Regions from separate parts of the Homo sapiens genome. Here region 1 is linked to region 2. The links are contacts of gene promoters, found by promoter capture Hi-C in human tissues and cell types (Jung and others, 2019). All regions are on one chromosome and are shown on one strand. The core of a region is centred on a gene start or on the middle of the fragment in contact, and the rest is flanking DNA. Distances in the headings are between cores, read along the strand shown. Region 1 overlaps USP18 (ubiquitin specific peptidase 18). Region 2 holds the start of MICAL3 (microtubule associated monooxygenase, calponin and LIM domain containing 3).

Region 1 (3,905 bases), core at 1,019-3,518, 130 kb before region 2:
CTCTCCCTCCACACCTCCCCGCAAGCTAAGGGAGCCCACTCCAGCCTCGGCCAGCCCAGGAAGGGGCTCCCACAGTGCAGCGGTGGGCTGAAGGGCTCCTCAAGCGTGGCCAGAGTGGGCGCCAAGGCCGAGGAGGCACCGAGAGCGAGCGAGGGCTGTGATGGCTGCCAGCACGCTGTCACCTGTCACCAGGACTAGGCTCACTACAGTAAAACCCAGTACTGGGCAGAGCCTCATCACCCTGATACTAGACCAGTACCCACAGGCAGATCTCACCCCACCCTAGTGCCAGATGAGAACCCACAGCCCCAGTAACAGGGACTGGCGATCTGGCCCACATCACTACCTGACAACTACAGTGGCCCTGGGCCCTGAATAACTTCAGCAGCAGCAAGCACGCCATCACAGCTGTGGGTCTTGGGCGTGCCCCAGTGCTGTGCCAGTCTCGGCAGCTATGGCCTTCAGGCATAACCCAGGGCTGTGTCAGCCTCAGTGGCCAAAGAATTCCAACCACAGTGATGCTGGGCTTAGAGCACCCCCCAGCACTACAACAGCTGAAGCAGTCATGGGCTTAGGGTCCTGACCAATCAGCCTCTCCCTAATCTCCTATGGGTTTCCTGATGAAAGACGAGCCCAAACAAAGCCAGGCAATGAAGACTGGCTTAGGTACCTATGTCAATGCACAGACATTGACACACAGCCATAAGGATCAAGGTCAATCAGAGAAACATGACATCACCAAATGAACAAATTAAGGTGCCAGTGACTAACCCTAAAGATATAGAGATGAGGCCTGGCATGGTGGCTCAGGCCTGTAATCCCAGCAGTTTGGGAGGCTGAGGTGGGAGGATCACTTGAGCCCAGGAGTTCAAGACTAGCCCGGGCAACATACTGAGACCCCATCTCTAAAAAAAAATTTAGATGGTCATAGTGGTGCACGCCTGTGGCCCCAAATACTGAGAAGGGTGAAGGAGGAGGATCACTTGAGGCCAGGAGTTTGAGGCTGCACTGAACTATGATTGTGCCACTACACTCCAGCCTGGGCAACAAATGAGACCTTGTATCTAAATAAATAAATAAGATGAAATAAAATAATAATAATGGGTAACATCGAAGCACTATTTCTTATAAAAGGTGAAAGCCTTTTATATGTACTGTCTTATTTATCCTTACACAGCCATGTGAATTAATTACTGTTATATTTCCATTTGACAGATGAGAAAACTGAGATACAAAGAAGTAAGTGCCTTTCCCACTGGCAAGTGATGGGCCAGATGTAGACAAGCTGGACGGGGTTTAAGTCCAGCTAACATGCTGCTCAGAGTGAGGAATAAACTCAACCAAATCATTGGTGGGAATGTAAATTAGTAGAGCCATTATGGAAAACAGTATGGAGATTCCTTAAAAACCTAAAAATAGATATACCACATGATCTAGTAATGCCACTGCTGAATATATATCCAAAGGAAAGGGAATCAGTATGTTGAAGAGATATTTGCACTCTCATGTTTACTGCAGCACTGCTCATAATACCCGAGATACGGAATCAACCTAAGTGTCTATCAAAAGAGGAATGGATAAAGAACATGTGGACTATATACACAAAATGGGATGTTATTCAGCCATTACAAGAGAATGAAATCCTGTAATTCCCATCAACATGGATGAGCCTGGAGTACATTACGTTAAGTGGAATAACCTAGGCACAGAAAGATAAATACCACATGTTCACACTCATATGTGAAAGCTCAAAAAGCTTATCTCCTAGAAATAGAGAATAGAAAGCCAGGCATGGCAGTTCACACCTGCAATCCCAGCACTTTGGTTGGCTGAGGCAAGAGGATAGCTTGAAGCCAGGAGTTCAAGACCAGTCTAGGCAACATAGCATGTTGCCTAAATAAAATAAAAAATATTTTATTTTCTAAAAATAAAAATAAAATTAGCCTAGCATGGTGGCATGTACTTGTGGTCCCAGCTACTTGGGAGACTGAGGCAGGAGAATCAGTTGAGCCCAGGAATTTGAGGCCACAGTGAGTTATGATCGTGCCACGGCACTCCAGCCTGGGCAACAGGGCAAGACCCTGTCTCCTTTTTTTTTTTTGAGATGGAATTTCACTCTTTTTACCCAGGCTGGAGTGCAGTGGTACAATCTCAGCTCACTGCAACCTCTGCCTCCCGAGTTCAAGCACTTCCCCTGCCTTAGTGTCCCAAATAGTTGGAACTACAGGCATGTGCCACCACGCATGGCTAATTTTTGTATTTTTAGTAGAGACGGGGTTTCACCATGTTGGCCAGGCTGGTCTTGAACTCCTGACCTCAGGTGATCCACCCATCTCGGCCTCCCAAAGTGCTGGGATTACAGGCATGAGCCACCGCGCCCAGCCTGGAATATATTCTTAAATTCATGTTGGATGGCTCAGATAACAACAACCTCTTTTTCTTAGTAAATATTGACTTTCAATAGTTATAAACAGTTGTTCTTCTTACAAGGCCCAGCCTAGGAGGACTCAACTGAAATGATGACAGCAGACAATTCCATCAGCAAGAAAGAGGATTTTGAGCTCATCATTGAGGGAAAGCTGATGAAAGAGAGCAGAGAGGTTCCAGGCTGCATTTTCCAAGATGTTGTCCTCTTCTCCGCCAAGACCTCCCAGATACTTCAGTAGGATATAGCAGTAAAACCTCATGGAGCAGATCATTTGAGCAGGCTCGGTCCCAAAGGGAAACAAAATACAGCAGCCTTTCAGGGTAGATCACACTGGGGAGACAGGGAGGCGGGGCAGCAAGGAAAGGAAAGTGAAGCTTAAAAGGTCTAAGGAGGATGGGGAGGGCAAGGCGAGCAGAGAGACCGCAGCTGAAGTTAGCAGGGGCAATAAGCATCCACCAGAGAAAACAGCCTGGGCGGATTCCAAGGAAGGGGATTTTCAAACTCAACTGCTGACTCAAAAAAAGACCCCCAGGCCAGGCGCGGGGTCTTTGTTTGAGACTCTGTCTCAAACAAAACAAAACAAAAATCCCAAATACTAAACTAACTTAGCTCCCACCCTACCTGAATTTTTTTTTTTTTTTTTGGTTCACGTTCTCTCATGATCTTCCCGAAATGTTATCCTTAAGCTTCGGGGAGAGGTGAGCAACGGAAGGAACTGGCCCAGGCCCACCACTAAAGAAGCCCCAGGACCAATCGGGGTCCTCAGAGAAGCCCCAGAAGAGCCAGGAACAAGCTGCAGAAAACCTGGGGAGGGTGGGGCCTCCACCCAATACTCCACTCACAACTGGACTCTCTGCCAGGAAAGCCAACTCCAACATTTAGATGCCCTAAAAGGAACAAAATTAACCTGCCAGGAACATGATTCAAGCAGCCTCGGTGTCTTCCGACCCACCCCATCATGGCAACCACAATTGTAGACCGCAGTCTCGATGACGTGTTCACATTATTTTGCATTTCTTTTTTCTTTTTTTATTTTTATTTTTATTTTTGAGACGGAGTCTCCCTCTGTCGCCCAGGCTGGAGTGCAGTGGCCGGATCTTGGCTCACTGCAAGCTCCGCCTCCCAGGTTCACGCCATTCTCCTGCCTCAGCCTCCCGAGTAGTTGGGACTACAGGCGCCTGCCGCCACGCCCAGCTAATATTTTTTATTTTTAGTAGATGGGTTTGCACCGTGTTAGCTAGGATGGTCTTGATCTCCTGACCTCGTGATCCACCTGCCTCGGCCTCCCAAATTGCTGGGATTACAGGCGTGAGCCACCGCGCCCGGCCTATTTTGCATTTCTTGAGTAATCGTAATATGCGGGTTAGAACACACGGATTACAACACTTTGGATGAAAAACCACATAATAGGGAAATTTTGGGACTACTCTCTCTCAAAAAAAAAAACAGCTCGTGGAAAAACTAGGACTTACCTTCT
Region 2 (4,247 bases), core at 607-3,106:
ATTACTAATGGCTTTCTCTAGGTGATGAGATTATGAATGCTTTTCTTCCTTTATGTTTCTATATTTTTCAGTTTTTCTAAAATAAACGTTTTCGCCTAGTGCAGTGGCTCATGCCTGTTATCCCAGCACTTTGGGAGGCTGATGAGGGCAGATCGCTTGAGCTCAGGAGTTTGAGACCAGCCTGGGCCATGTGGCAAAACCCCATCTCCACAAAAATTAGCTGGGTATGGTGGTGCATGCCTGTAGTCCCAGCTATGCAGGAGGCTGAGGCAGGAGAATCGCTTGAACTTGGGAGGCAGAGGTTGCAGTGAGCTGAAATTGCACCACTGCCCTCCAGCCTGGGCAATAGAGCAAGATCCTGACTCAAAAAAAAAAAAAAAACTCCAGCGTCAAAAATAAAATAAAATGAGAAGTAGGAGAAATTATTAGAGATTCTGGACCTTTTAGGGCATTTTTCCCTAATATCCACTCAGGCCGTGCCCAGATGGCCTTGCACCTTCAGCTGTGGCATCAAACAAAACTGGGAATTGCAGCTTTACCACTTATCTCGCTGCATAAGCTTCCACAAGCAAGTTACTTACTGTTTGTGCTTTTAGGTTCTTAATATGTAAAACAATGTTTTACATTAAAAATTAAATGAAATAGCTCCTGAAAAGCCCAGTCACATTGTCAGAGCTCAGTAAAAATGTGTTCCCTTATTCTAGTACTGGGGCAGAACACCTGCAGGTTTGTAGGTGGGGAGACAGTGGACAGAGTGGCTGGGTGATGAAGTGGGGCTCTAGAGGATGAGCAGAGATTGCCTCTGAGCCGACACCCTGGCCCTGTCAGTTCCCGTCCTCACATGATGGACATGAAGGGAACACGAATGAAGCAGATGATGATACGGTTAAGTAAATACCACCTGGGACCAGAGAGAGCCCTTCTCAAGGAGTCGCCAGCCCAGAGTCGGCCCTCTTCTGAGCTGGCCGGCTGGAGTCAATCTGCTTTGGACAACACAGCTTCAGATGGAGATAATACTGAGGCCAATGATCCTTGAAGACAAAATAATCTCTGGGCTTCTTTCTGCTCTGATTATAATGTTGCAATTATACTGAGCAGATGCTGATAGGAATTTGGTCAAATCCATCCCGTCTTCCATCTAACTTATTTTAGTGCCTGGTGGATTTCTGTCCAGCTCCACGGGCTGTGGCAATGCCGGGGCTGGCTGGAAGTGTGGAAGGGGCTGGCTGGAAGTGTGGAAGAGGCTGCCCGGGCTCCGGCATCAAGAGGTTTTCTCCGGTGGGGAGGAGTGCGCGATCTGATCCTTGGAGCGCTTGCAACTGTAGCCCTCCCCCAGGGCTCTGCGCTGATCTCCAGGGTCATCATCATAGTAACAGTAAGAACTTCATTTTATAGCATTTTTCAATCTGTAAGACAACGTCGTGTCCTTTATACCGTTGAAATTTCAATTTCACGACTACTCAGATGTTACGCGACTTGCTCAGTATCCAACACTTGGTTCCTTCACTGGCTCCCGGAGACCTGGGTGCTGAAGCCACTGCAAGGAGGTGTGTGCTCGAACACACAGCGAACACCGACTGCGTGGTTAGCAGGATTCGCTGGGGAAGAGGCCTCAGGAGAGTGCTGGAATTTCCAACCTTCGAGGTGCTAGTAACGTGTGTCGAGGAAGGGGTTGGAGAAGGGGAGAAAATGAAAAGAAGGGGAGAAAATGAAAAGATGGGGAGGAGGAGAAATGGTTTGGGTTTGGTTTTGGCTTGAGCCTCACCCAAGCGTCCCACGCCGCAGCTCCGCGGCCTCCTGGGGGCGCCCGCTCGCGTTGCCACGGCGCTCGCGCGGAGCCGCAGCCCGCCCAGCCAGCAGCGCGCGCTCCTGCAGCCCCGGCGGAGTCCCGGCGGGGAGCGCCCGCGTAGGCAGGCACCCGGGGCAGCCCTCCGTCCTCGCCGCGCGGCCTGAGAACCCCTGGGCCCTGGGCGAGGGGGCTGGGCTGTGCAGCCCCCGAGGCTAACTGGGCGGGATCGCAGCTGCAGGGGTTGTGCGAGCAGCCACGGCGGCACCTGTGCCCTGCGGGCACCCACCCTGCCCCTGCCGAGGCAGGCGCCCACCGCCGGCGGTGATGCGGCTGTGAAGCCCTAGTCGGTGAGTACCCTCCAGTCCCCCTGTGGGCGAGCGAATCTAAATGACAAGGTTATGTGTTTTGCTGGATGTCTTCTAAGAATCATTTATTTAGATTGCTTATGGTGGGGAAGCGTTTCCTTTGTGACATCTTTGTGTTTCTCGGATCTATTTCGTTTCCCTCTAAACGCAGCCCTCTCTCCCCTAGTGGGAAAGACACCCAGTATCCGTGTCTCGATCATCGCACGACACCCACCAGTGCGGATGCCACGTACCACACACTCCCCAGAGCCTGCCAGAGAGCAGGGCTGTCTCCCAGCCACGTCCACCCCATTTTCATTGTGCTTCTATCCCGCAGGCAAAGGAAGAGCGTACCCAGGCACCCCCGAGGTAGGCCAGGTGTCAGGACAGCCAGCAGGCCCTTGGCGAAGCCGGGTCCGCTCTGGCTAGCTCAGCGCGGTGAACCCATGAGCTCATTAGGAGCAGCGGCTGCTTTGCGCGGGGAACGCCGGTTTCCCTGCGGCAGAGGGGCCCTGCACCCGCCCGCGGCGCGCGGTGGTGGCCCAGGACCAGTGGCGCACACGCTTGCGCTCCCAGGCTGCAGGGCGCGCTGCGCCGGCGCAGCTCCCGGGCGTGTGCAACAAAAGGACGGCCAAGTTCATTCCCTCCTGGAAGCAGAGGGCGGGGCCGCATGACTTCTGGAGGCTGCATGTGTCTTAGAATCAAATGGTTATGACTCCATAGCAAAATGCTTTCTGTGTGTCAAGTCCTCTCCGTGCCTGCCAACCCCTTCCCTCCTCTCTCCTCCCTAAAATGCTTTCTTATTGGTCTGGCACTGTGATCAACTATTTAGAATTTTCATTGTAAAGAAATGAAAAAAGGGTGAAACCGAGACAAGCTGTAGGCTGAAAGGCTGGGCCCTGTGGTGCTATTCATTAGCTCTCAGGCCTGGCTGCTGGGGAGATTTTTAGAAATCCTGCTACCTGGGTCCAATCCCTGGAGATTCTGACTTAATTGGTCTGGGATATGGCCCAAACACTGGGATTTTTTAAATTTTCTTTTTGTGGGGAGGAGTGGTGGTGGGAAAATTTGGAGTGCATACTGGATTTTTTTTTTTTAACTTCCCAGGTGATTCTAATGAGCTAAGATGGCCACCCACCATTCTAATCAATCAGGGTGACATTTTTCCAGGTGAACTTGGTAATAGTTCAGTCTCTCAGGCTGCCGTTGGAGGGCAGGGTATGCAACTGTCATAAATGCCTACAAGCTACAGGCAAAGAGAGCTGGCAGGGCCTTGGGCTGCTCCAAGAAGCTCAGGATGAAGGCAGTGTCTCAAACGAGGGAGGGATCATCACTCTCGGAACAGGTCCCTTCACTAAATGAAGTGTTCTGATCTATATTCCAGGGCAAGGGGAAAGCAGATGCATACCTTTGCAAGTCTGTAGCATGAAAGCTGTGGCTCCCTGTACATTTGTGGACTTCATGGCTGCCTATGTACTAACCAGAGTCACATGTGTATATCCCCCCACCACCCACTCACTACAAGGAGAATGGACACTTAGAAAGCAGAAGAGGGGGCTGGGCGCAGAGGCTCAGGCCTGTAATCCCAGCACTTTGGGAGCCCGAGGTAGGCAGATCACTTGGGGCCAGGAGTTGGAGACCAGCCTGGCCAACATAGTGAAACTCAGTCTCTACTAAAAATACAAAAATTAACCAGGTGTGGTGGTGCATGCCTGTAGTCCCAGCTACTCGGGAGGCTGAGGCATGAGAATAGCTTGAGCCAGGGAGGTGGAGGTTGCAGTGAGCCAAGATCACACCACTGCACTCCAGCCTGGGTGACAGAGTAAGACTCTGTCTCAAAAGAAAAAAAAAAGGGTGGGGGTGCAGGTCGGAATGCAGTAGTCACTCTGGAGAAGGAAGAGGCAACAAATAAGATCACCTAGAAATTATAAAGTGTTATTATCCTTCTCAGGCCTAAAATCCTTCCACATGGCGAGTCCCTCGTAAGCCTATGGGAAATCCTAGAAACTTCCTCTCCCTGAAAATTGGAGTCCCAGGGTAAAATCTTCCCCACAGGTACTGTTGCAGACTGGGGGTGGGCGGCAAAAAGTTTCCTCTAACCCTTGCCTTCTAAA

The links. The method cuts DNA at HindIII sites, captures the fragments that hold promoters and counts their contacts. A contact is called where the count stands out against the background at its distance.
Region 1: a fragment that was not itself captured here is called in contact with the fragment with the promoter of MICAL3 in region 2 in 2 of the 25 tissues and cell types used here (dorsolateral prefrontal cortex and lymphoblastoid cells).

Annotation. Positions count from the first base shown.
Region 1 is chr22:18,151,626-18,155,530 of GRCh38, reverse strand. The region is part of intron 1 of USP18 (ubiquitin specific peptidase 18); the gene reads right to left. Among named protein-coding and RNA genes, the nearest start is that of USP18, 3.4 kb to the right of the region's middle. RefSeq lists enhancers at 1-209, 2,692-2,941. The HindIII fragment of the contact is 3,638 bases long and covers 450-3,905 here.
Region 2 is chr22:18,022,170-18,026,416 of GRCh38, reverse strand. It overlaps MICAL3 (microtubule associated monooxygenase, calponin and LIM domain containing 3), which reads left to right and starts at 1,856. Exons shown (of 32, transcript NM_015241.3): 1 at 1,856-2,136. RefSeq lists a silencer at 1,719-2,128. The HindIII fragment of the contact is 7,498 bases long and covers 1-4,247 here.